4 separate regions of the Homo sapiens genome follow, and regions 1, 2 and 4 are each linked to region 3. Evidence: promoter capture Hi-C in 16 types of primary human blood cells and fetal thymus (Javierre and others, 2016). All regions are on one chromosome and are shown on one strand. Each heading gives the region's core, a stretch centred on a gene start or on the middle of the fragment in contact. The rest is flanking DNA. Distances are from core to core; before and after follow the strand shown.

Region 1 (7,625 bases), core at 3,051-5,550, 360 kb after region 3:
AGCAACTAGAAGATGCCAGACTACTTTTATTTGCTGTGCTTGACAACTTGTCACCAAAAAAAGATTTCTAAACAGATTTATCTTTCTCATGACATGAGACTTTTAATATCATCTGTTATAAACAATTGCTGTTGACAGCTTATACTGACAGGTGTTTGAGCAGTTGTCAATAATATGCTCATTTTATTGATTCTTTTCTTCCTTATATATCATGACTGAAATTTAAGTAGCTCAGAGTATATATTAATTGAGCCATCACTCTTATCTCCCTGATACATGATCACAGAACCAACAACTGTGCCTCTAATGTCCACATGGACTAAAAGTCACAAGATTGTGAGAGAAAAAAAAGGGCAACAATGCAGACAGGCTAAATTAGTATTAGGTTAGTGCAAAAGTAATTGCGGCCGGGCGTGGTGGGTCACACCTGCAATCCCAGCACTTCGGGAGGCTGAAGCAGGTGGATCACTTAAGGATCAGGAATTCAAAACCAGCCTGGCCAACATGGTGAAACCCATCTCTACTAAAAATACAAAAATTAGCCACTCGTGGTGGTGAGCACCTGTAATTCCAGCTACTCAGAAAGCTGAGGCACAAGAATTGCTTGAACCCAGGGGGTGGAGGTTGCAGTGAGCTGAGATGGCACCACTGCACTCCAGCCTGGATAACAGAGCGAAACTCCATCTCCAAAAAAAAAGTAATTGCGGTTTTTGTCATTAAAATTGTGAAAACTGCAATTACTATTGCACCAACCTAATAACTCAATGTCATCAAGAAACCCACAAGAACAGCCACAAGTTTCTTTAGAGATGATTCTCAAGATTTCTCCAAGAGTAGAGTGAGATGCCAGATCCAAAAATACAAGGAGTACGTGAGAGTCTACCTACCTTTCTCCACCCAGCCTCTTCCTCCGCCCGGGTCCGTCACACCTGCACCCAAGCTTACACTCTCCCAACAGGAAACGGGGGCATGCATCCTTCTCTGGGGATATTAACACTTAGAGGTTGCCCAATAAAGCAGCGCAGTCGCTTCCCAACCCTGTTATAGTAAAGACCACTAGACACAAGCCTCATGAGATACACAACCTACAATCAGCTCAAAAATATGCCTCGCTCATAAATGGCTGGGCCAAACTTGCCAGGCATTTGGGGAAAACAAGATCTAAAATAAAAGTAAAGTGAAAGAGGCTGGGCACGGTGCCTCACACCTGTAATCCCAACACTTTAAGAGGCTGTGGGTGGATCATTTGAGATCAGGAGTTCGAGACCAGCCTAGACAACATGGGGAAACCCCGTCTCTACTAAAAATAGAAAAATTAGCTGGACGTGGTAGTGCTACACCTGTAGTCCCAGCTACCAGGGAGGCTGAGGCAGGAGAATCACTTGAACCTGGGAAGCAGAGGTTGCAGTGAGCTGAGATTATGCCACTACACTCCAGCCTAGGCAACAGATCAAGACTTCATCTCAAAAAAAAAAAAAAAAGTAAAGAGAAAAAGACCAAAACAGACTAATGGAAACCAGAAATTCAGAGAAACAGAGACAACACAGGGAGCATAAGAGAGTTCCATAGAAACTATGACTGTTTGAGAAATAAGCAAACACAAGACATCTATAAAACAAGAACAGTATCACCTTAAAATAAAAATCAAAGAACAAGAAAAGCTTTGACAATTAAAAGTCTGACACAACTTTTCTTAAAAAATCAATAAAAGTATTCAAAAATAGAGTTTTAAAAATCTTTTCAGATAGGTTTTTTTCAACGTTTGTTTTAGACTCAGGGAGTTCAAGTGCAGATTTGTTACTTGGATGTATTGTGTGATGCTGAGGTTTGAGGTATGAATGATCCCATCACCCAGGTAGTGGACGTAGTATCCAATAGGTCATTTCTCAGGCCTTGCCCCACTCCCTTCTTCCTCTCCTCTAGTAGTCCCCACTGTCTGTTGTTCCCATATTTATGTTCACGAGTACTCAATGTTTAGCTTCCACTTATAAGTGAAAACACGTGGTAATTGGTTTTCTGTTCTTGCATTAATTCGCTTAGGATAATGGCCTCCAGCTGCATCCATATTTCTAAAAAGGACATGATTTTTTCTTCTTTATGGGCTGTGTAGTATTCCATGGTGTACATGTACCATATTTTCTTTATCCGATCTACTGTTGTTGGGCACCTCTGTTGATTCTATGTCTTTGCTATTATGAATAGCACTGTGATGAACGTGCACCTGCATGTGTCTCTTTGGTAGAATCATTTGTTTTCTTTTGAATATTTACCCAGTAATGGGATTGCTGGGTCAAATGGTCCGGATAGTTTTTGAAAAGGACAATAGGAGGGGCCGGGTGCGGTGGCTCACACCTGTAATCCCAGCACTTTGGGAGGCCAAGGCAGGTGGATCACCTGAGGTCAGGAGCTCAAGACCAGCCTAGCCAACATGGGGAAACCCCGTCTCTACTAAAATACAAAAATTAGCCGGGCATGGTGGTGCACACCTGTAATCCCAGCTACCTGGGAGGCTGAGGCAGGAGAATTGTTTGAACCTGGGAGGTGGAGGTTGCAGTGAGCCAAGATCATGCTATTGCACTCCAGCCTGTGCGACAGAGCGAGACTCTGTCTCAAGAAAAAAAAAAAAAAAAAGACAACAGGAGGGCGAAGGTAGGTAAATTAGAAGATCATTTGCAGGTGTGTGAAAGTTGTCAGAATCAAAATTCAGTCACATGTTTAAAATTCTAACAAATAGAGCCAGGGAAGGTCATAAAAGGAGAATCCTCATTAAAAACATATCGCATTTTTTGGTAAACTTTATATGCAGAATTATATATATTAGTTAGAATTTTTAACTCTTAATAACTTTAATTTCTACTGAAAACCTAGGAAATAAGATGTTTTTTAGTGTCTGTCACATATCAATATGTTGCAGATGTGAACCATTTTATCATTTCAAAAAGCATTTCCCCAAAACATAATTTTTGTGTGTATTAATAAACCCAAATATATTTAGTCTTTATATAAAATTCAAGAAGCCAAGAACAAACATATATTTATGTTCAGCAATTTATGTTTCAGTATTTTAACTTACTTAGAAATGACTCAGACATTTTGTGAATATCTATTACCTAATTTAACATAACCTGAAAATTTCACAAGTTTATTTATAAATGTTTATCACATTGCATTTTCCTAATGTATTTATTTTTAACAATTTACCTAGATTATCATAGCCAAACTATCAATCAAGTGTGAGGCTAGACTGAAGACCATCTGTGACCTCAGGCAAGGGTCATAACGTGTCTGCACTTCCTGTTCCTCCATACAAAAGCAATGAAGATGGTAGCACCGCCTTGCCCATCTCAGAGGATCCTTATCAAGATGAAATAAAGCATAACTTCCATCCATAGAGTACTAATTCCCTTGTAAGTCATAAGCTCCTCTGGGGCAGTGTCTAATTATGATTTATCTTTGGACTCTCTAAATTACCCAGACCAGTGACTTACACATAGTAAATATCAATAAATACTCTTTGAATGAATACATAAGATTTGTAGAGCAACTTTCTAAAAGTTGAAAGATACAGCACTTTATATATAACCATAAAAATTTAGAAACCTAATATATATATACATATAAATAATACTGCCTTCTAGAAAAATAAAGTATGACATGGCCATGTAGTAAAATCTTGTGTATTCATTAGACTGAGTTGTTGTTGTTGTTGTTTTGACCAGGGAAATTGTTCATGATGTAATGCTGCAGTGTTTAAGGTGGGTTGTAGATCAGTGAGAAGTGACATTCCCCCTCAGAAATACACACATTCCCATACACCTGCTATATTTCCCAATTGAATTCGGCGAAGAGAGAGAAATTAACAGAAACAAGGAGGCTCCCAGAGAGTGGGTGAGAGACCCGGAGAGGTTTGTCCTGGCTCCTGACTTGCCTATAGTACTCAAGGGACTGGTGTCATTCTCTGTCCAGGTAGGTCCTCGTCAATGTTGAGAAAACAGCTAAACCCTTGTAGTGCAACAACCCTTTTAGACTCAGGCAGGCATTGCCAATCTGGAATAATATACGCTGGTAATCCATGTGCTTCCATTTGAGGTAGTATTGGAAAGCATCAGCCTCTCCTTGTTCCTGAACCTGCCTCACAATCTACAAGGCCACCTCCCCTTCCAGGTAGAAAGCAGAGGCTGTGTCTAGATGGCCCTGAATGACAGCTCTGCCTGCTATTCTCCATTGTCCTAGAAAGCCCACGTCCCCACCGTCCACCCCTCTCTGATTTCATCCTCTGTTTCCCAGATGAATCTCAAACTGTGTTAGTTTGAGACCTAATGTTACAAATCCATGTAGTCTATGATCTCAAATATTCAAAAATATGGAAGAATCACTGAGGCAGTAGCATCAACTGAGCCCAGGAGCTTGAGGCTGAGAGTGGGAGGACAAAAGGGCAGGTGGGGAGAGAAGACCCAACCTGGTGGCCCTGCAGCGCCTCTGTGGATGGATTTTACAAAACAGTACAAAGGGAAGCTGAGGGTCAATAAATGAATGCCCTGAAAACCACCTGGCAAGAAACCCTTGTAAAGTTTCTCTGTAACCTCAGGGTGATATAGGCCCCAGTTTAAAATCTATTCATTCAGAACTCCAGGACTGCAGGTTCTTGCTAAGCATCCAGCCTGCTGACAAAAGCACTGTTTAGGCAAGATGCCAGCGGGACTTGGGAGCAACCCACCTCTAAAGGACGATGCTTTTCAAAATGGGTTCCCTAGATCACCTGCATCAAATATTATCTGAGTGTTTATTCAATATGTTTAACATGAAGATTCCTAGGCTCTGTCTCAAACCAGCTGAAAAGGAATCTTTAGGAAGAGGGACATGTGAAACTGTTTGTTGAAGCAACCTACAGCAACGTATGGGCTTTTTGTTGTTGTTGTTGTTGTTTAGACGGGGTCTCACTCTGTTGCCCAGGCTGGAGTGCAGTGGCCCCTCATCATCACACCCACAGCATTCTGCTTTGTCTAAGGCTTCCAAATGTATTCCCTAGTTTCCACCACACCACGGTAGCCCCTCAAGCTCCGGGCTGGATCTATGTCTAATTCATCATTGTGTCCACATCCTAGCCACATGACTAGCACATAGCTGTGCTCAATAGATACTTGTTGTATGAATAAATTCATAGTAAGTAGAAGATACAAAAATGAAGAAGGTGGCTGGGTGCAGTGGCTCATGCCATAATCCTAGCATTTTGGGAGGCTGAGGCGGGAGGATCGCTTGAGTTGAGGAGTTCAAGACCAGCCTGGGCAACATGGCAAAACCCCGTCTCTACAAAAAATAAAATAAAATAAAATAAATGAAGAAGGGAAGAATGTTTGAGGAACTCCCAAATATAGGATTAGTGCTCAGTTACTAATACACTAAGGAGCAGATTATTGGTATGGATCAGCGCAACCAAAAGGTAACCTCCAAATCATTGCTATCTGACTATCATCTATCTATTATCTATATATATATATATGTAATCTATATATGTGTATATATAATCTATATATGTATGTAATTTATATATATCTATATATAATCTTAAAATTATGTAGTGATAGAAAGGGCAGGCTTATGCGATGGCGGATGGGATTATGCCTTCGGCTTTTGGAACTATCGAATATCAATGTGGAAGACTTGAAGACCTGTTTGCTGAAGACCCTCTAAGCCTCTTAGAAAACAGTGACAAGAGCTTTGGGACATTTGCTAGGACACCGGATATTCTGGCATTTATGAACCAAGCCTGGGGATGCTCTCTACTGCTGTGGAGTTGGGGTGGTTTCAGCGGAGGACAACAAGGCTGCTAATTTGTTACTCAACTGCCCTTTGGCCCAACGCCTGGGAATTTATCCTAAAGGCCTCAGTAAAGGAGATTGTCAGTTAAAGAGTCCAATTACCCACGAGAAGCCTTATTAGTAACTGAACTTGCTCCTGGGCAAAGAATGCTGACCATCTCGGGGAGAAGAACCCTAAAGCCTGAATTCAAGACAGCAGCAGGGAATACAGCAACTGTCAGTTACAGCCACCAGGTGGCGCAGCAGAAAGCCAAACTCTCAGGAGCGCAAGGCAAACCCACATCCTGGTTCTTCTCCCCTAAGAAATTTGGTAGCCTCAGAAATTCGTCTGGAGAAGGGCTTAGAGGCAGACACCATTGAAACGGTAACCCAAGACCTTAATTTCACCCTTGCCTCAGTTTTACCCTTAAAATTACACCCAGAAAATGAACTGATAGGACTCGCTCTTGAGAGCCAATTGCTAAATTTTTAGCCCATCTTTTCTCAACCTCATGGTCAGTGACACCAAGTTGGTAACGTGAAATTGGCCAGGAAGGAATATTTACACCATGGAAATTGGCAAATGCTATAAATCAGTTCTTCAGAGGGTTGGTTGTTAAACATTTACCCAACACTCCTGGGTGAGAAGGAGAGACCGCCCATAAATTGTGCTGGGAGGCAAAAGAGGAAAGTTTGGCAATTTGCTTCTGATAATAACTCGGACAAAGTCAAATGTAGCAGCTAAAAACTTGGACTCTGTATTCAGGATTTAGGACTTAAATCTGTTGTTTAAGATTAAGCTCTGCCATTTATTAGCTGTGTAGAGTTGGGCAATCAACTCTTGGTGCCCATCTCTTCATCTGTAAAAAAGATATAATTGTACCTACTTAGTAAGGCTACTGTATAAGTCACCTTAAAATAACTATATGTGTTAGATATTACTATTACTAAAAGGTGATGAAATTATTAATACCATTAATTCAGAAATCATTACGATGTAAACAACAGAGACACACTTGAATTTTAAGACCTTAAAGCTATTTACCAATCTCGTTATATTTTTATATTTAATTTCAGATCCTGATTTAAATTTATTTTCTGTAAAGTGACTAAACACATTGGTTGGTTTTAATCCAGAATAATAAGCTTTTTACTATCATAAATTCTCTTTTGAATGTTTGGGAAGTAAATTATATATTTCCAGGGTTTTGCTCTAAAGGCTTTTTATTCTCTTTCTTTAAATATTTTGTAAATATCAGAAAGTCAGTTGGGTTTCCCAAAGAGTATGCCATTTAACATGAGTATGTCTCAAGTTGAGTCAAACAGAGGTTGCTCAGAAATTGGGTTAATAGAAACTCCAAGTCTCATTCCTCTAATGAGGGGCTAAGGGTTTTTCTCCATGTTTTGGATGGTGGCAGCCTTTGAGAATAAATAGATGAAATGATCTCTCATAGCGACAGAAGGAAAGTAGAACAATCTAGAACAACTAGACATGTGACTTTCTCTGAAACCACAAAGTAAATAAAAGACTCAGCTTTATGTTTTAAGGAGCTTCATCAATTAGGTCTGGATTTTGATTGATAAAAAATTCAGGGTGTCTGCTTACATAAAATTGTGAGACTTTTCTAGAAGTTTTGGAGAAAGTTGGGTTGCGACCTACCCTCTGACATCCTGACATTAAGAGTCACCTGGCCTGAGGCCAGAGGAATGAATACTCAGTGACCCACCTATGTCACTTCTAACTGGCAGAAATTAGAAAGCTGTGAAACTAATTGGTCAAAGAGGCTGTCAAACTCATTGCATCATCTATACTTTAAAGTCCAGAAC
Region 2 (7,264 bases), core at 4,253-6,752, 270 kb after region 3:
ATAAGTGAAGGAAGCCAGGCACAAAAGGGCACATACCCTGTGATTCCACCATAAAACATTCACCAAGGGCTGGAGGTGCAAGAAGTCATCATGGTGGTTACTCTTTAGAGGGAAGCTGTGGAAAACATCTGACAAATTTCCAACACGAAAAGAGAAATAAAAAAGGTTTTATCCAAAAGATCAAGAATCAGAATGGCCTCAATTTCCTCAACAACAACTAGAAGCTAGAGGAGAAGGGAGCAATGCCTTCAAATTTCTAAGGGAAAGTGATTTCCATATCCAGCCAAATTATTGATTAAATGTGAAAAAACACCAAAGTTTTTTTTTTCAAATGTACAAAGTCTTTAAGGATTCCTTCTGTGTAGAGAAAAACTCATACCACATTTCCCCTCTACTCACACCACCACAACAATCATCAACACAGAAGACTTCTGTAACAAATATGTGGACACCAGCTGGGTGTCCTCCAATTCAGTTCCCACACTGTCTACCCAGAGATAATGTCAGATCCCACAGGTTGGGGGCTCAGTCCACAAGACTGCCCCTCCTCCAGTTGCAAATCCAGGTCTCTGCAACTTCTTTTTATTTTATTTTTTTATTTTTTGAGATGGAGTCTCCCTCTGTCACCCAGGCTGCAGTGCAGTGGCATGATCTCAGCTCACTGCAACCTCCATCTCCCAGGTTTGAGTGATTCTCCTGATTCAGACTCCCAAGTAGCTGGGACTACAGGTGCCCACCACCACACCCAGCTAATTTTTGTATTTTTAGTAGAGACCAGGTTTCACCATGTTGGCCAGGCGGGTCTCAAACTCCTGACCTCATGTGATCTACCCACCTCGGCCTCCCAAAGTGCTGAGATTACAAATGTGAGCCACCATGCCTGGCCTCTGGAATTTCTGATCAATGGGCTTCAAGTTGGGGTTCCCACCACCTCCTCTATGGGTTGGATTAATTTGTGGGAGCAAATCGCAGGACTGAAAGAAACACTTACTTACATTTACTGGTTTATTATAAAAGGTATTACAAAGGATACAGATGAAGAGATGCATAGGGTGAGGTAGGACAGAAGGGGTGCAGAGCTTCCATGCCCTCCCTGGGTGCCACCCTCCAGAAAATTCCCTGTGTTCAGCCACCCAGAAGCTCACTGAACCCTGTCTTCTTGGATTTTTCGTCAAACTTCATGTCAGCAGGCCTTCCCCCGGGGTATTGGGTGGGACCCTTTCTGAGGAGAATCTAAAGACCCACATCAGAAAGGTGGGGAAGATTAGAGTCCTGCCTTGGGGCAGATGAAAGGAGGGCAGGAGAAGGTTGGAGAGATTCTGTTTCCTGAGGCCTAACACAAACCAGAATTATAACAAATGACTAACAAGGGCTATGGGACTTATGAGCCAGGAACTGGGGACAAAAACCGATATATATCATAACACCACACCTTCCTTTTACTCTTTTCTCAGGAAGCTAGATATGCCAGAAATATACCCAGAGAAAGCAAGATACGAGATCCATGCAACTAAAGAGAGAAAGAAGCAACGATCATTCCCAAATGTTGGCCAAGAGACAGCATAAGGCGACAGGTATACGGCAAACCCAGAGAGCCAGAAACCCAGATTGGCACAGGTTCGGAGGCTCTGACAGAGTTGTCTTCAAGAAGACAAATTGGCCAGGCGTGGCGGCTCACACCTGTAATCCCAGCACTTTGGGAGGCCGAGGCGGGCGGATCACCTGAGGTCAGGAGTTCAAGACCAGGCTGGCCAACATGGTGAAATCCCATCTCTACTAAAAATACAAAAATTAGCTGGGCATGGTGGCATGCACCTGTAATCCCAGCTACTTGGGAGGCTGAGGCAGGAGAATTGCTTGAACTCAGGAGGCAGGGGTTGCAGTGAGCCAAGGGGGCACCATTGCACTCCAGCCTGGACAACAGAGTGAGACTCTGTCTCAAAAAAAAAAAAAAAAAAAAGACGACAAATTGATAGAATACCTAGAAAGGAGATTTACACAATTAGGGCAAGTTTAGGGTTAACTGTGTATAAATTAGATGGGTGTATTATTGTACGTATATATGTTTGAATCACACGTTCATATTACTATACCTAATATATTATAAACATTATGAAATATAAATAAGAAAATAATGAAATAAAAATAAATATAAATAACAGCTCTATGATTTTCTTCCCTCCCCTTGCAGGTGCGCTGGGCAGGACACAGGCTGGAAGTGCTCAGGGGTTATCTTGTGCATTTCCTGCCTGTGCCCCACAGCGCACCCACAATACAAGCAGTGCCTTCCTTGTATTCGTTGATCAGATAAACCAAGAAGAACCATCAGGCCTTAAAGACATGGAGCACAGAAACTGGGAGAGAAGGTCACATGTTGGTAGATGCCAGGCTCCACTGTAATAAGTCCTGCTGGGTACCCCAAGGTGGGCCCTGAGAAGCTCAGGCCAGCATGAGGTCCTGGACCCTGGAGTTGATGATCAGAAAATTATCAACTCCTGGAAAAAGCAAACGCCCTCAAGACCATCTCAGTTACAGTTCTCCTTTTAGCAATGAGAAAAATGTATGCTTTAGAATCTTGCCTGTCTAGTTCTACATCCATTTAACATATCTGCTTTTGATGGACTCCCAGATAAATGCATGAAACGTAAATATAAAGAGATCGTGTGTGTGTTTAATTTCCTGTCCTAATTGTCTTCCACTGCCTACACAGGCTGCCAAGTCTCTTATTTGCTGCCATTTGGGATGTGAGGTTTCTCCTCATCAATTCCTCTACAGTTCCTGTAAGAGCTCTGAGCCAGAGCTGGGCAGTTTGTTCAGAAAACTTTCTCTGAAATATTTTTAAAGAACTTCACAGAGCCCTTGTTATCTAATAGACAGGCCAAAACATTGACTCCAGGCATGTTTTCCTTTCTGTTTCATCAAAGGAAAATGAAGATGAAAAGCCTTTTTGTAAGTACTTATTCCCTATTAGGAAATTGTTTAAGTAAATCACTTTAGTCAAAAATGTTAGAGGCAGTCTGCCTAAGACAGAATATTTCAGTGGCTAACTTTAATAAATGCTAACTTACAAATTGAGCTCATTGGCCATAATTGCTTGCAACAGTAGGCACTAAACACAGAGATTAGCATAATTGTGATTATAACTCCCATTAGCATTTGTAATGTAATTATAGCCAAGTAACGTGCCAGGATGGAAAGATTCTACTAAAACTTCTCTCGCAAAGACACGAAAAGTGCATGCCCTTCCTCCAGGAGGTAGCATCACGGGGAGATGGCTCTGTGGTGAGGCCTTTAACCTCCCAGCATCTCACTTTTGCATCAGCAAAACATTTTGTGATTATTCAGTATACCTGGCAAGGATACACTGCTGGAAGAAAACTGTTTCTGCTTAAGATGGAGTCAGATTTTGACTTAAGGTGGACACATTTTGCCACCTGCCTGAAACCAGTATGAACACACACAAACAAGAACAGCAAAATGTATTAAATGACAGTTTGCAAGACGTTGGTTATCAGGCAATGAAGCACAGTGACCTCCAAGAGATGGGAAACAAATTAGTGGAGCCCTATTTTTGCCCCAGCTCACTGTCTTGAGACAGTTTCCAGACTGTGGCACAGGAAGGGAGAACCCAGGTAGAAGCTGGTGGACTCCTTTAGGCAAGAAGATGGAAATGAGAGTCCAGGGATAGCAAGGCAGCTGGAGTTTACAGGACAGAGAACCAGCAGAGATAGTTGTACAGAGAGAGAATCCTGGGATCTGGACGGGGTTCTGTCAATATTCACACAGTATTGATCGTGACAGCATGTGAAGATACTACTCAATGCCAGAGGGGCGAAAACATCTGAAAGGATCAGAGAAAAGCACACAGTGTTCACCAAGTGTCAAGACTATTAGCTGTTCCCTCCCACCAGCCAGCCAGGGAGAAAACACATTTTTGAACACTGGGCAGAATACTCATGAACATTCTGTCTTAGCGGTGGGAAATAATTAGCCGCAGACCAAACACTGCTCCAGATCCACCTCACAAATTATGAAATCTAAATCTGAAGGGCTCAAACTATACCCAAGCAACTTAATTGCATCCCAGAGAAAAGCTTAAGAACAGCTATAGGAAAGCAAAGTATCACGTATCCAAAAATGGTAGTAACCACAACGGGTGGTATCTGATAAGGATTATCAAACATAGAAAGTATAAGGAAAATATAACACATGATGGGGGAAATAATTCAAAACTGACTCGAAACTGACACAGATGTTATCATTAGTAGACGAGTACATTGAGCAATTATAACCATATTCCAGATATTCAAAAAGTTAAGTAGAGAAAAATGATTTAACAAAAATACTCTAATTGAACTTCTGTAAATAAAAAACTACAATATCAAAAATTTAAAAAATTGATGGGATTAATAGTAGATTAGACATAGCAAAAAAATAGATCTGTAAATTTGAAACCATGGCAATGGAAACTATCCAAAATAAAAACACTGAGAGGAAAAACAATTTTTTTTTTCTTTTTTTGACATAGAATCTCACTCTGTTGCCCAGGCTGGAGTAGAGTGGTGCAATCTTGGCTCACTGCAACCTCCGGCTCCCAGGTTCAAGCAATTATCCTGCCACAGCCTCCTGAGTAGCTGAGATTACAGGTGTGTGCCATCACACCTGGCTAATTTTTTTGTGTGTTTTTTTAGTAGAGATGGCGTTTTGCCATGTTGACCAGGCTGGTCTTGAACTCCTGAGCTCATGTGATCCACCTGCCTCGGCCTCCCAAAATCTGGGATTACATGTGTGAGCCACCACGCTTGTCTGGAAAAAAAATTTTTAATTAAAAGAGGATCAGTGAATTCTGAGACAACTTCAACTGGCCTAATACACGTGCAGTGGAGTTGCCAGAGGAGAGGAGAGGCAACTGAACAAATATTTGAAGAAATGACAGTTGAAAACATTGCAAACTTAATTGAAACTAAAAACTCACAGATCCAAGAAGTTCAACAAACCCCCAAGCAAAAGAAGCATGAAACAAAACACTAAGACATATCATAATCAAATTGTTAAAGAAATCAATAATAGACACAAAATATTAGAGCAGCCAGAGGAAAATAATAAGATGTTACATAAAGAGGAAACAAAAATAAAGATGAGAATAGATTTTTTTAATAGAAAACAATGTAAGCCAACAGACATCTTCAAAACATTGAAAGATAAAAACTATCAAGCTAGAATTTTACACCAAGCAAGAATATCTCTCAGAAACAAAGATGAAATGAAGATGTTTTCAAACATAGAAAAACTGAAAGAATTCACTAGCAAATCCACACTGCAAGACATTTTAGAGTCTTTTAGGCAGAAGGAAGTAAGGAGCTTCACAAAAAAGGAACACCAAAAATTGTAACTATATGTGATTTTTCTTATTAAATCTATTTACAAGATAACTGAATATTTAAACAAAAATAAGAACAATGTAGTTAAACTTCATACGTGTAAGTAAAATATATTACAGTGCTAGCAGAGCAACCAGGAGGGGGAAATAGAAATATTCTATTCTGTGATTCTTTTTATTTTATTTTATTTTATTTTTTTGAGATGGAGTCTCGCTCTGTCACCCAGGCTGGAGTGCAGTGGTGCGATCTCGGCTCACTGTAAGCTCCGCCTCCTGGGTTCACGCCATTATCCTGCCTCAGCCTCCTGGGTAGCTGGGACTACAGGCACCTGCCACCATGCCTGGCTAAATTTTTCTATTTTTAGTAGAGACAGGGTTTCACCATGTTAGCCAGGATGGTCTCGATCTGCTGACCTCAGCTCTGTCACCCAGGCTGCAGTGCAGTAGCACGATCTCGGATCTGCAACTTCCACCTCCTGGGTTCAAGTAATTCTCCTGCCTCAGCCTCCCAAGTAGCAGGGATAACAGGTGCCCCCCACCATGCCCAGCTAATTTTTTTTTGTATTTTTAGTAGAGATGGGGTTTCACTGTGTTGCCCGGACTGGTCTCAAACTCCTGACCTCGTGATCCACCCACCTTGACCTCCTAAAGTGCAGGGATTACAAGCATGAGCCACCACACCCAGCCTCTATTGTATGATTCTTACACATAAAGTGGTAGGTCAGACAAAAGAAGACAGTGAAAAATTAGAATTATATGCTCTCCACTATAAACTATATACACTATATTTTACTACTAAAATGACAAAAAGATTTATAGTTAGTAAGCCAATAATAAAAAAAAAATTATTTCAAGGATCAGTTAATTCAAAAGATGGCAAAAATAGAAAAAAGTGAGTAAAGAACAGATAGGACATCTAGAAAACAAACAGCAAGATGGCAGATTTAAACCTAATCATATCAATAATCACATTAAATGTAAATGAGCTAAACAATCTTGATTAACTGCAGAAATGGTCAGACTGGATTGAAAATCTAGACCGAAATAAATACTGTCTATAAGACATGCTCTTCTTGCTCTCCTGGCCCCCACCCACACTGGCACCAGGGAAAGGCCATGTAAGCACATAGTGAGAAGGTGGCTGTTGGCAAGCCAGGAAGAGAGCCCTCACCAGAACCCAAACATGCTGGCACCCTGATCTCAGACTTTCAGCCTCCAGAACTGTGAAAAAATAAATTTCTGTTGTTAAGTCAAAAGAAGAAGAAGAAGAGGAGAAGGAAATGTTCTTTATATATTAAAACATGGGTAAAGTAAAATAATTTAAAAATTATTTTTAATGATATACCATACTAATACTAATCAAAAGAAAATTGGAGTGGCAAATTAGTAACAGTGGCACACAATAACAGAGCTTCAAACTACATAAAGCAAAAATTGTTAGAACTACAAAGAGAACAAAATAAATCCAAAATTATACTTGGAGATTTCAATAATTAGCTCTCTGATTGACAGAAGTAAAAAGAAAGTCATCAAGCTTATCAAAGATTTGAAAGTCACTGTTAAGCAACTTGACATAATTGACGTTTATAAAACACTCCACCTAGCAACAGCAAAACACACAGTGTATTCAAAGACACACAGAGCATTTGCCAAGATAGACAATATTCTGGGCTATAAAACAAGTTACAATAAATTTGGAAGTGTTCATGTCATACTAAGTATGTTCTCTGACCACAATGGAAGTAAATTCAAATCGATTATGAAAAGATCTCTGGAAAATCCCAATTATTTGGATGATGGAAACTAAATAATACACAATTATATACTTGTAAATACTAAATGGATTAAAGAAGAAATCAAAAGAGAAATTAGAAAGTATTTTCA
Region 3 (4,206 bases), core at 528-3,027:
GAATTATCTCCTATTTGTTTTAAGTAAAAGATGGTGAGAAACACAAGTGGCACCCACAAAGCCTTGCCTCGCCTTGCCTGGTGCAGCAGTGCCAGCTCTCCACAGCATGGGGAAGGCACTTCGCAGCCCACATTCCTTACTTCTGAGGGGAGGCAGCCCCCAGAATTATGCAAATCCTCCCCATTTCAGTAGGAGGCTGCAGTGTCAGATTAGAAAAAAGAGCTCAGCATTCTTTCTGATCCAAGTCATGAAAAAAATGTCTTTGCCTCTGCAAACTTCTGCACTAGATTTGTGGCTACAGTTTGCAAGACTGAAGCTGTCAGATACACTCCCACCCCATTTCAAAAAAGAATCTGAAGAATCAAGGTGGCCAGATCTTTAAGATTAAATATTTTGGCCCAAAATACCCCCTCAGACTTACATCAGAAGTTGCTTATGCCTTATTCTGAAGTGACAGAATTGCAGAAAACATTCACCTAAAATTTTTTTCTGTATGTTACAGTTAAATTAATGCAACGCCAGTAAAAGGAAAGAAATATGTGTGGAAAGTGTCTGAACTTCAGCACACTCCACTGGCCAGGGCTGACCAGGCAGAAAGGAGAAAGTGACAACTTTACCACCCACTAGCCCCCTGCCTCCCTACTCACGCAGAGGGTAAATTACGATATTCACCCAACTTTTCCTTTTCTTTTTTCTTCCTCCAGTGCTGGAGGAAAGAAAATCTCAGAGGGAGGAATGTGGTTTTGCACCCACTACAGTCGAAACCAACCAGACCTCAGGAGAGAAAAATAACTGCGGAATTCCCTAGGGCTTTCTGTCAAATTTTCTTCTCAGAAAGGGAAGGGGAGAGGAGTTGTTAAGAATAGTTCAGGCCAGTGATCAGGAAAGCCTTCTGAGCCTGACTCCGCACTGAATGCATCGCCAAAACTCCTCGCCCCTAGACCATTGGGCTTTGCTATCGGCTCTGCAAAACCATGTGCAGGGAGAGCTTACCTGAGAGAAACGCACACACCGTGAGCTGGCGCTCTCCGCTGCGAATGCCCGGCCGCCTCCATGCCCAGCAGAGGATTCTATGTTCTAAGTGTGTGTGTCCCCGGATACCAGCAAAGGTTAATAACGTGCTCACAGCATGCGTTTCAGAGGGCTCAGCCAGGGCTCGGGGAAAAGGGCATCATCTCGTTGCCTCTGGAGCCCCGCTGCTGCATACCCTGCACCCCCAAACCATCCCCCCGGGTCCTGGTCCCAGCAGCCAGGCGGCCTTCCGTCTCTCCCCCTTGACAATACTCTAGCGGTGGAAAGCAGTCCTCAAAGCGCTTCAGCCTCCGGCCGCAGACAGAGCAGCAAGACCAGAGAAACCATCCTAACAGTCGGTCCTCCCTCCTGGAACTCGTAGGAAAGTTTCCCCGTTTTAAAGAGCGCGATTCTCGAATGAATCAAAAACACCCTCCAGCTCCTCGGTCCTCCCGGCCGGGCGCCTCCCTGCACCTCGGGCACCACCCGGGGCTCACGCGGCCCCGGCACTGCCCACTTCCCGAGCGGTCGCCTGTCACCCCGGGGGTAGCCCGCTCGGCGATCGCAGCGCCCCTCCAAAGCTCCCCTCTGCGACCACGCTCGCCAGACAAAAAGAGGCCGAATTTGGAGAGCGCGTCGCGGGCTCACCTCTGGGCTGCGCTCCCCCGGCCCCTCCGTCGGTCTCCGAGCCGCCAGCCGCCCGGCCGGAGCATTGTTCGCAGAAGGTCTGCGCGCGGTGCGTGCCCGGCCGCGGGCGGGTGGCTTCTGCCTGGGCCCGGCGGCCGGGTGGCAGCTGTGAGCGCGGCTCCGCCCCCTCCGCCTCCGGTGACGCCGCCCGCCCCAGCTCACGCCGCACCTCCGCAGTCCCTGCCGCCGCCCGGCCCCGCCTGGCCCGCGCGCCCCGCCGCCCGGCTTGCGCCTGCCGCTCCCACCCGGCGGTCTCCTACCCCCAGGGCCCCGACTCCTCCAAAGTCTCCAGGCCCCGGGACTCCCTCTCTTGCCCACCCTCCCGCCCCGGACCGGCAGGCTCCGCCCCCAGCCCCAGACTTGGCGCGGGCTGACCCCCGAGCCCAGCACCCGTTTGCACCCCCTCCTCGGTGGGGACCCTGCACAGCTCTGGAGGGGCGAGCTCTGGCGTTGCAATCCTCCTTTTGCCATCATGCGTGTATAGGTGCCCGGCATCACTTCATCCAGCCGGCCCTGCGGGACCCTGGGAAGAGAGGGAGAAGGAAGGGGAAACGAGGAAGTGTGGGGTCGGGAGTGGAATACAGGTCAGGGTCCGAGGCGGGCTCTGAAAGCCACGTGAGCACAGCGAGCCTCAGCTCTCCCTACCTCTGGGAAGAGGGTGGCGCCGGAGGGAGCAGGGCTGGAAGTCCCGGTGGCGGATTCCAGGTTCCGCTCAGTCCCTGGACTGCAGGATTCTGGCAAATTGCTTAACCTCTTTGAACTTTAGTTTTCTGGATGTAGAATGCAAGCGTTGCACTGCAGGGACCTGGCCTTCTACCATGCTGGGACATCCAAGTCTTCCGCAGGCCAGTAATACACCTGTGTTTACACCGTTTCCAGTGAGTCATTCACTGAGATAGAACGAGTTCGAGATAGTCCTCGGGCTAAAAAAATCTTTTCACTGGGAGTATAATAGCTTAAGACCCAGTCAGTCCTGTAGCTTGACCTGGGTGTTTACTCGGGGAGCCAGGGCTATGGTCACCTCCCAGGGCCATGCCGGGTGGGAAGAATTCAGTGAAATGGAATAGGAAGAGGACCCCCCTCCCCCACAAAACAATACCTGCGGCTTCTCTCGCCCTCTATCCCCTCCCCAGGAAGGCAGTTTATTTTGACTCCAGTGAAGGTCCTCTGCCAGTCAGCCTGCGAGCCCCCACCCACTGAGAGGAGGAAGATGGGCCCCCACCCCCACCCCCAGATCCCTGGCTCTCCTCTTTGCTGCTGTGGGTGTGGACAGAGAGGGAAGATGTGTATTTGAGGTTTGGCTTCTGTGTGAGGAAAGGGAAAAAAGGATCCAGGGAATTCTTCCTCATGTTCCAGTGACACCCATGCCTCCTAAGAGGACAGAATCTGGGGGAAGCTGTAGAGGGATGGGAGTGCAATGGACATTCCTTAAGGACCTACCCAGCGCTAAGCAATCCTATGAGGAGAGCATCATTATCCCCATTCTACAGATAAGAAAACTGAGGCTCGGGGGCCTCACAATTTGCTGGGGTTCCTCAGCTGAAAAGTGGTAGTACTAAGATTGGAACCAAAGGCTGTCTGGCTTCGCTGGTAGGCAAGTCTACTCTGCCACTCTGCCCTTGCCAAGTGCAGGTAGTCCAGCCCTATTTTTCTCTCTCCCCTAAGTGGAGAGAAATCATTTGAACAAATACTGGCCGTGCGCGGTGGCTCACACCTGTAATCCCAGCATTTTGGGAGGCCGAGGCTGGCAGATCACCTGAGGCCAGGAGTTCAAGAACAGCCTGGGCAATGTGGTATAACCTCATCTCTACTAAAAATACAAAAATTAGTCGAGTGTGGTGGTGGGCGCCTGTAATCCCGGCTACTCAGGAGGCTGAGGCAGGAGACTCACATGAGCCAGGGAGGTGGAGGTTGCAGTGAGCTGAGATCGCACCACTACACTCCAGCTTGGGTATCAGAGCAAGACCCTGTCTCAAAAAAAAAAAAAAAAAAAAAAGGAAGGGAAACTTTGGTTACACTTCATGAGCATCCAACAGAGCTGAAAGATCCAGACCCTACCAAGACTCAAGAGGGGAAGATGTTGATTAAACAGGTAGGTACAAAGTGGTCTGCAATGGAGAAATACAAAAGTGACTTCAGAAAGTGTGCAATTCATTTACACTGGGAGAGGGCAAACTAAGATGTTTGAGAAGTTCCTGGTTCTCAGGATTCAGGCTAAATGTTTCACTTCTTTCCTCTGTAAGAGAGACATTGACCTCACAGAATAAAGGCTGTGCTGAACACATAAAAGAAGCACTTACTTTTGCACTTTATTTTCTTCTCTTTACCTAACTTATTCTTTTTTTTTTTTTTCCTGGGATGGAGTTTCATCTTTCAATCAGGCTGGAGTGAAGTGGCAAGATCTTGTCTCACTGCAGCCTCCACTCCCCGGGTTCAAGCCATTCTCCTGCCTCAGCCTCCTGAGTAGCTGGGATTGCAGGCGGCCACCACCATGCCCTGCTAATTTTT
Region 4 (6,941 bases), core at 4,442-6,941, 490 kb after region 3:
CCTATAGGTGTCGCACAGAAAATTTTTTTTATAAAAACAATGTTTCTACTCTTTTATTATTAATCCAACCCCAGAATTTTAAAAGTATGCAAAGTATTATTACACGCCAATAAGCTAATGATAATTCAAACATTATAAATTGCTATACTTTTTTTTTTTTTTGAGGTGGAGTCTCGCTGTCTCCTAGGCTGGAGTGCAGTGGCGCAATCTCGGCTCACCAAAAGCTCCGCCTCCCGGGTTCATGCCATTCTCCTGCCTCAGCCTCCCAAGTAGCTGGGACTACAGGCACCCGCCACCACACCCGGCTAATTTTTTGTATTTTTACTAGAGACGGGGTTTCACCGTGTTAGGCAGGATTGTCTCGATCTCCTGACCTCGTGATGGGCCCACCTCGGCCTCCCAAAGTGCTGGGATTACAGGCGTGAGCCACCGTGCCTGGCCATAAATTGCTATACTTTTTTAGTAACAGGTTAAAAACCCTGGGATCTGAGGGAAAGACCAATTGTTTAACTCCATTCTTCATTCTCAACATGTGTTTCCTACCGCTAATAAATGGAACTCGAGTTTTTCCATGGCCCCACTCAGTTGGAAGAATCCTCTTTCTCGCCTGAACTTCTGTGGCACTCTGTCCAGACTGACTTTTATCATTTATTATAATAAGTGGTATAGCGCACAAACCTGATCCATTTTCTAGACCAAGTTCCCAACGCACAGGCTCTGAGGGGGATTCAGTTGAATCTCCCAGGTGCTTATTCCTTGCTGCAAGGCCTCTGGAAACTCCTGCTTTATGAATCTAGAATCAATGAATAAATATCCTGACAAATAGCTACTTACATGTAAACTCTAGATGTTATCTCATTTCTCTACACTGCATGAGCACTGTGTTGTATCTTTCGGCTAATAATATAGACAAACTAAGTTAATGATTATTCTTGCAAAGATGCAAAGATTTTTTTTAATCTAGTATGAACTAAAAGCCATAATTAATCACCGAGAAGGATAGCCTCAACTTTTTTAAACTGACTGTAAACTGATTACCTAGTGCCACTCGGCTAATACACTGGAACCAGCCCTTGGTAGACAGATGTGCCCTTCCAAACAGATATGCACAGTAGGCCTGGGCTCATCCCAATTTGGAGCTACTCCCAACTACTCGGATCTTTGCCTTGGATCAGCCCAACAAATGAGCATCTTATGGAAGATGAGGCCGCTCACAAACCCACAATGAAATACATGGCTTGGGCCCTCTCTAATGAATTACTCATGAGTCAGGCATGACACCTGAGTCTGGGAGGCTCCTCTCATAAAGTCGGTAGTAACCTTAACATAGAAAGAAGTTATAAATGACTATGCAACCTTACAACTGGCTTCCACCCATAGTCATCGCTACTTCATATGCAAACAGCACCTCTGATATCTCACTCAGATTCTAAAGAAATCTTTGCTAGGGGAAGAGAAAAAGGGAGAGGAAAAAAAAGACATTCTCTGCTGTGTTTTACATTTCTTAATCCTCTCTAGTTTCGTCTAGAGTTTAGAGAAAGTCAGTGAGAAAAAAGATTATGGGCATGTTCCTAACCATTTATTTCAATTTCCTTTATTATTAGGTGGAAAAGTAGTTAACAGCTATGCAAAGCAGGTGCAGAGAGGAGGAGGAGGAAGGCAAAAAGAGGGCCGCTTTTGAGGTGCATGAACCAAGAAGAGTCGCTGCCTGCTCTGTGCCATCATGCAGCTGTTAATGCCACAAGGCTGCTCTCCCACCCTCCCCAAAGTTGATAATGAAAAATCAAAGCACAAACAAAAGCAATGCACAGAACAGGATAGCAAAACCCGATCATCCTGCACCAACCACATCTCTTCAGTGCATCTGCTTTGACCTCTGCTTTTACAAGCACTACCACTGAAAATAAGCTAGAACAAAAGCTGATTCGTTATGCACAACCATAAAGAACTCCGGGGCACGCTACATACATAATTCATCATGCCAAGCACGCGACAATCAGCATCATTTATCTTTGCGGTATTTTAAAGCGGTGACAGGTTACTAGATATTTATAAAGTCTCTTATTTCTATGAGACCCTTCCAAATTTAAGAAATAAAGAACCTTATTCCTCTGCAAATGGCACTGCTTACAAACCTAAGACTATATATCTCCTGGAATTCACCTGGTATCCATCATAAGAGGGTGGCTACACGACCCTAATAAACCAATTAAGCTAGCAGCCGTTCCACATCAGTCCTGTTGAAATTAATCTTATCAAATCACTTCCGCTTTCTGTTTTTTAAAACATGCTGCAGTCTTCTTCCCGCTGTGGTTAAAATTTTTCTTGAAACATACACTTAAATCAGTCATGCTTTCTGTCTAATGGATGAGGAAACCGGAGCCTGGGAAGGTTCAAGAGCTCAGAGCTAGGAGGAGAGAGGCCCAGGACTCTGCCTCATTAACATCCAAGACTCAATTGCCTTCATCCCCAAGGACCTACCTGGGGGCCTCTATTGTTTATTATTGTCTGAATTACCTCTAAGTGGTCCCTCTGACTCCATTCTTACTCCATTGAAATCCATCTTCCACACTGCTGCCCTGAGTGTGCTGACAAAATGGAAATTTGACATTTCCCCATTTGACCCTTCAGTATTTTCCTCTCACCCTCTGAAAAAAACCATCAGGCTTTAATTTAGCTTAACACCCAGATGCCAGAAGTTCCTTCTGGTGAAAAAGTGTTAGCTAGTGAATAGATAGGCTAAAAGTTATTTACACGGGATATGTACAGTGGTTCAACCTGTAATCCCAGCACTTCGGGAGGACAAGATGCACAGATCACTTAAGCACAGGAGTTCAAGACCAGCCTAGGCAACATAGTGAGACCCTGTCTCTACAAAAAAAAAAAAAAAAAAAAAAAAATTAGCCAGACATGGTGGCACGCACCTACAGTCTCAGCTAACTCGGGAGGCTGCAGTGGAAGGATAGCTTGAGCCCAGGAAGTTGAGGCTGTGGTAAGCTGAAATCGCGCCACCTCACTCCAGCCTAAATGACAGAGCAAGACTCTGTCTCCCAGGAAAACAAAAAAGGTTTAAAAAGAAAACAAAAATATTTACAGACGTGCATTGATAAATGAATAGTTGGGCTGCCAGTAATTTGTACAGCCCATCACACGTCAGGGGCCCTGGTTTTACAGAAAGTCCCTACGACTCACCTCCCCTGGAGACCTCCCATCCATCTAACCACCCCACACACACACACGTGGATCAAGACAGATTCCATCCCGCAGGCCTCTCCGAGCCCCTGGAGATCTTTTTCTCCTGGAATTTATTACACAGCCCTGCAAATCTCTGCTTACTGTCCACACTGCTTCCCTGGACTGCAGCTTCCCGGGGTCAAGGCCTTGCTCCCCTCCCATGCCCCATGCTCTGCCCCATGGCTGGTCACTGCCAATCCCCAGCAAATGTTTATAGTCCAGTACTGCAATGTTAAAAGCAACCATGTGCATTTCACACAAGGAGTCCTTACTTTTTTTCTTTTTTTGGTGACAGGAGCGTCACTCTGTTGCCCAGGCTGGAGTGCAATGGTGCAATCTCAGCTCATTGCAACCTCTGCCTCCGGGGGTTATTCTGCTTTTCATTCAAATAACTACCCATTTTTAATGGGTGACAAGCTATTGCCTTCCTGAGAAGCAGCACAGGGTGACAGCAAAGACCATAGGTTCCTGAGGACAACCTGGGCTCTGCTACATGCTGTGTGCCCCTGGCCATATGACTTAGCCCTCCTCTGTCTCCACTCCTCATCTGTAAACCAGGATGATGGTAATCAGAGCTAATGTTTACTGAGCCCTTATTATATGGTAAAAACTACTTGCAGCTGGGCGTGATGGCTCACACCTGTAATCCCAGCACTCTGGGAGGCCGAGGGGGCTGGATCACTTGAGGTCGGGAGTTTGAGACCACCCTCGCCAACTTGGTGAAACCCAGTTTCTACTAAAAATACAAAAATTAGCTGGGCATGGTGGCACATGCCTGTAATCCCTGCTACTCATGACAATGAGGCACAAGAATCATTTGAACCAGGGAGGTGGAGGTTGCAGTGAGCCAAGATCACTCCACTGCACTCCAGCCTGGGCAACAGAGTGATCACAAACACGCAAACAAAGAAAAAACTACTTGGGGACTTGACATCTATTCATTCATTTCCCCCTCACAACATCTAAGGAGACTCTGATAGCAGGTGTAAATGCTTGGGAACTGTTAGAATTATTTTTACCTATTTACAGACGAAATTGAGGCCCAGGGAGGCCAAGTGGCTTCCCAGAGGTCCAGGCCCCCGACTTCCTAATCCACTGATTTAATTACATCCAAGGCTCAGATGCATGGGCTCAGATGTATGAATGGCATTCAAGAAGTGCCTGGGAGAGGTTAACATACTGCTGATAAAAGATGCAAGGCCTCTTTCTCTAATGCTGGTTTAATATAAAGCAAGTAAGCTGCATGGCAATATTCATCTCTAGCTACAGCTAAGGTGACACTTGTTCTGTCACCCTACCTAGGAAACCGTATCAACTCCCTGAGATGAAAATCTGCCCCATTCCAGAAATGAGCTAAATCAAAGGAGGGAGAAGGAAGGAAGAGGAGGCTAAGGCAAAAAGTTATTCACACTTTGCATAAACATGCCCGGATGGCAAGCATTATAAAACGATCTGTGTAACATAAGCTTCTGGGTCCATGGGAGGCAAGGGAGCATGTGACTGTGCACGGATATGAACAAAGCCAGCGACACACCACCAGATTCTTCAAAAGCAAATATTTGTCTATGACCAAAGAATCGGGATTCTTTTCTAACAAAGAGGAATGTACACCGTTCTAATTCCTGATTCTTCCTCCTGCTTTACAGTGGGTTATGATCTCGATGGAAATCCCCCCATGAATAAATGTGTCTGCAATCACAAATGGCCCCATAAATCAGAAGATTTATGAACTGTAAAAGGGGACGGCAGGAGGATTCCAACCTTGCAGCTTCCTTCATGCGGACCACCTGGGGCCGGATGCATGGCAGTTTATCACTTCCTGGAAACAGTCATCTGGCTTTTCTTTTTAGCTAAGCAAGAAAATGTTATCAGCCCTGGTAATCAACAAGATGCAATCATCCCTGCTATTTGGGTAAGCTTTTAATGCCGCACCACATTACACAGAGGAGGCTCAGATGCATAGGCTCGGATGCATGAACAGCATTCAAGAAGTGTCTGGGAGAGGTTAACACACAGCTGATAAGCTCTGGCTGGCTGCAGTGAGGCCTGGCCCAACAGCCCCTAAGGCAAATTCCTGAAGGGACTAAATAGAAAATGAGTGGATATTCCCTATTCCAAGGGAAAAAATAAAAATAAAAAAAAAGATGGGAACAATACAGTAACCAGGGAAAAGCACAGAGCATGCACATGTGTGTTTTTCTTGGGGAGGGGGAAATGCATATATTTCAGAGGCTTAACAAATACATTCAAAAGAACACCTGCTCCATCCCAGACAGGCAGCAGAACATCGTGCAAGAGTGAGACGGAGACAACCGGGCAGTGCCACTCGTGAGCCATCTGGGAGTGAGGGGTGTCAGGGAAGGGGACAGATGCACCCTACAGGGCTTTGCATCCCAGTTCTTATTACTGTACCTTGGGCACAAAACAGCCCAGCTCTAGGCAAGCCAGTGAGCCATTTTTGGTATCATAGTGTTCTTTTGGAAAATTCACATTTCTATTTTTAGTTCTTCCACATGCAATTCATAAGCAATAGCCCTCCGGAATCAAAGTCACCTCAGCTATGCCATGAGTCAAGAGAATCCCAGTGAATATATTTTTTAATAGCATGTTCAGGGAAAATGTGACCAGCTCTGTTCGGCCATACTGTCTGCATTGACTTGGCAGTTAGCATGAAATGAAGGATTTTAAAGACCAAACACTTCAATGAGTCCTGTGAAAAAAACTCCCAAGAACCTGACTGGGGACTTTGTTAGCTTGAAATAAATATATACGTCATTAAGTATGTTTTAAACACAGAAGCAACTATAACAGGATTTAATTGCTTACTTTTTTTTTTTTTTTTTACAGGTCAAACACATTTTAGAGTGCTGGGTTACACCCACTCTTTCTTCATCACATGTACAGAAAGGCAAAGAGTGTGGGTAATCTCTTAAATTTTAAATTCCCACTTGGTATGAGGATAAAACATCCAAGAAACATTTCCTGTGCAGAACACACCAAGCTTAGGTGTAGAAAATACAACGGTGTGGAACTCGAGAGGATGGTTCTAGGATACAAATAAAAACAACCACGCAGCGCGGGAAGATTTTTGTTTAGAAAACAGATGGGACAGAAAGGCAGATGCAATGTTTTGAGTCAATGAGATACAGTTCGTTCTTAATTATATTTCATTGATTTCTTACATGGACAGAACATCATTCTTGCTGCCACTGTTTTATTTTGATCAGCGGTATATCTATCTGTAAACATGTACAATTTGTAATTATTGCTATGTCTAAACACTGCATCACGTGTAATGGCTGAATTAAGCTGTGAAATGCGTAATTATGCTGAAAACAATGGTGTTCCAATACACATCACCAAAGCCAATTTAAAAAAATTACCTTGTTTCAAATCACAAAGCGAAGCCTTCATAACCCTCGAGGCTTTTTTTAGGTCCCACCACTTTGATTTAGAGATTTGTCTTTTTCTAATTGCATCTCAAGAGTGTTCCGAGCACAGAGAGGGATTATTAACCCTGAAGGAAATAAAACTGAGTATTTCTTACACCTCTGGAAGGTGGAGAACGTACTTAGTTTAACAATCTGGAAAGGATCAAAGGTCTGCCGGTATAGGTGTGACTGAACAATACATCCATTGGTAGACTACTATGCTATATTTGTAGGATATACTATAACATTCTACACACACACACACACACACACACA

Evidence for each region. The method cuts DNA at HindIII sites, captures the fragments that hold promoters and counts their contacts. A CHiCAGO score of 5 or more calls a contact.
Region 1: a fragment that was not itself captured here is called in contact with the fragment with the promoter of PRAG1 in region 3 in 4 of 17 cell types (M1 macrophages, M2 macrophages, M0 macrophages and 1 more); the score reaches 8.4 in M1 macrophages.
Region 2: a contact is called between a fragment that was not itself captured here and the fragment with the promoter of PRAG1 in region 3, in 15 of 17 cell types (M2 macrophages, M0 macrophages, endothelial precursors and 12 more). The highest score is 31.3, in M2 macrophages.
Region 4: a contact is called between a fragment that was not itself captured here and the fragment with the promoter of PRAG1 in region 3, in 1 of 17 cell types (M0 macrophages). The highest score is 5.1, in M0 macrophages.

The regions. Positions count from the first base shown.
Region 1 is chr8:8,744,841-8,752,465 of GRCh38, forward strand. No RefSeq gene overlaps it. Among named protein-coding and RNA genes, the nearest start is that of CLDN23, 47 kb to the left of the region's middle. The HindIII fragment of the contact is 5,283 bases long and covers 1,660-6,942 here.
Region 2 is chr8:8,653,332-8,660,595 of GRCh38, forward strand. No RefSeq gene overlaps it. Among named protein-coding and RNA genes, the nearest start is that of CLDN23, 45 kb to the right of the region's middle. The HindIII fragment of the contact is 2,820 bases long and covers 4,093-6,912 here.
Region 3 is chr8:8,384,662-8,388,867 of GRCh38, forward strand. It overlaps PRAG1 (PEAK1 related, kinase-activating pseudokinase 1), which reads right to left and starts at 1,778. Exons shown (of 6, transcript NM_001080826.3): 1 at 1,660-1,778. RefSeq lists a silencer at 1,481-2,160. The HindIII fragment of the contact is 9,968 bases long and covers 1-4,206 here.
Region 4 is chr8:8,867,416-8,874,356 of GRCh38, forward strand. All of the region lies in intron 1 of MFHAS1 (multifunctional ROCO family signaling regulator 1), which reads right to left. Among named protein-coding and RNA genes, the nearest start is that of MFHAS1, 23 kb to the right of the region's middle. RefSeq lists a silencer at 1,064-1,358. The HindIII fragment of the contact is 1,084 bases long and covers 5,150-6,233 here.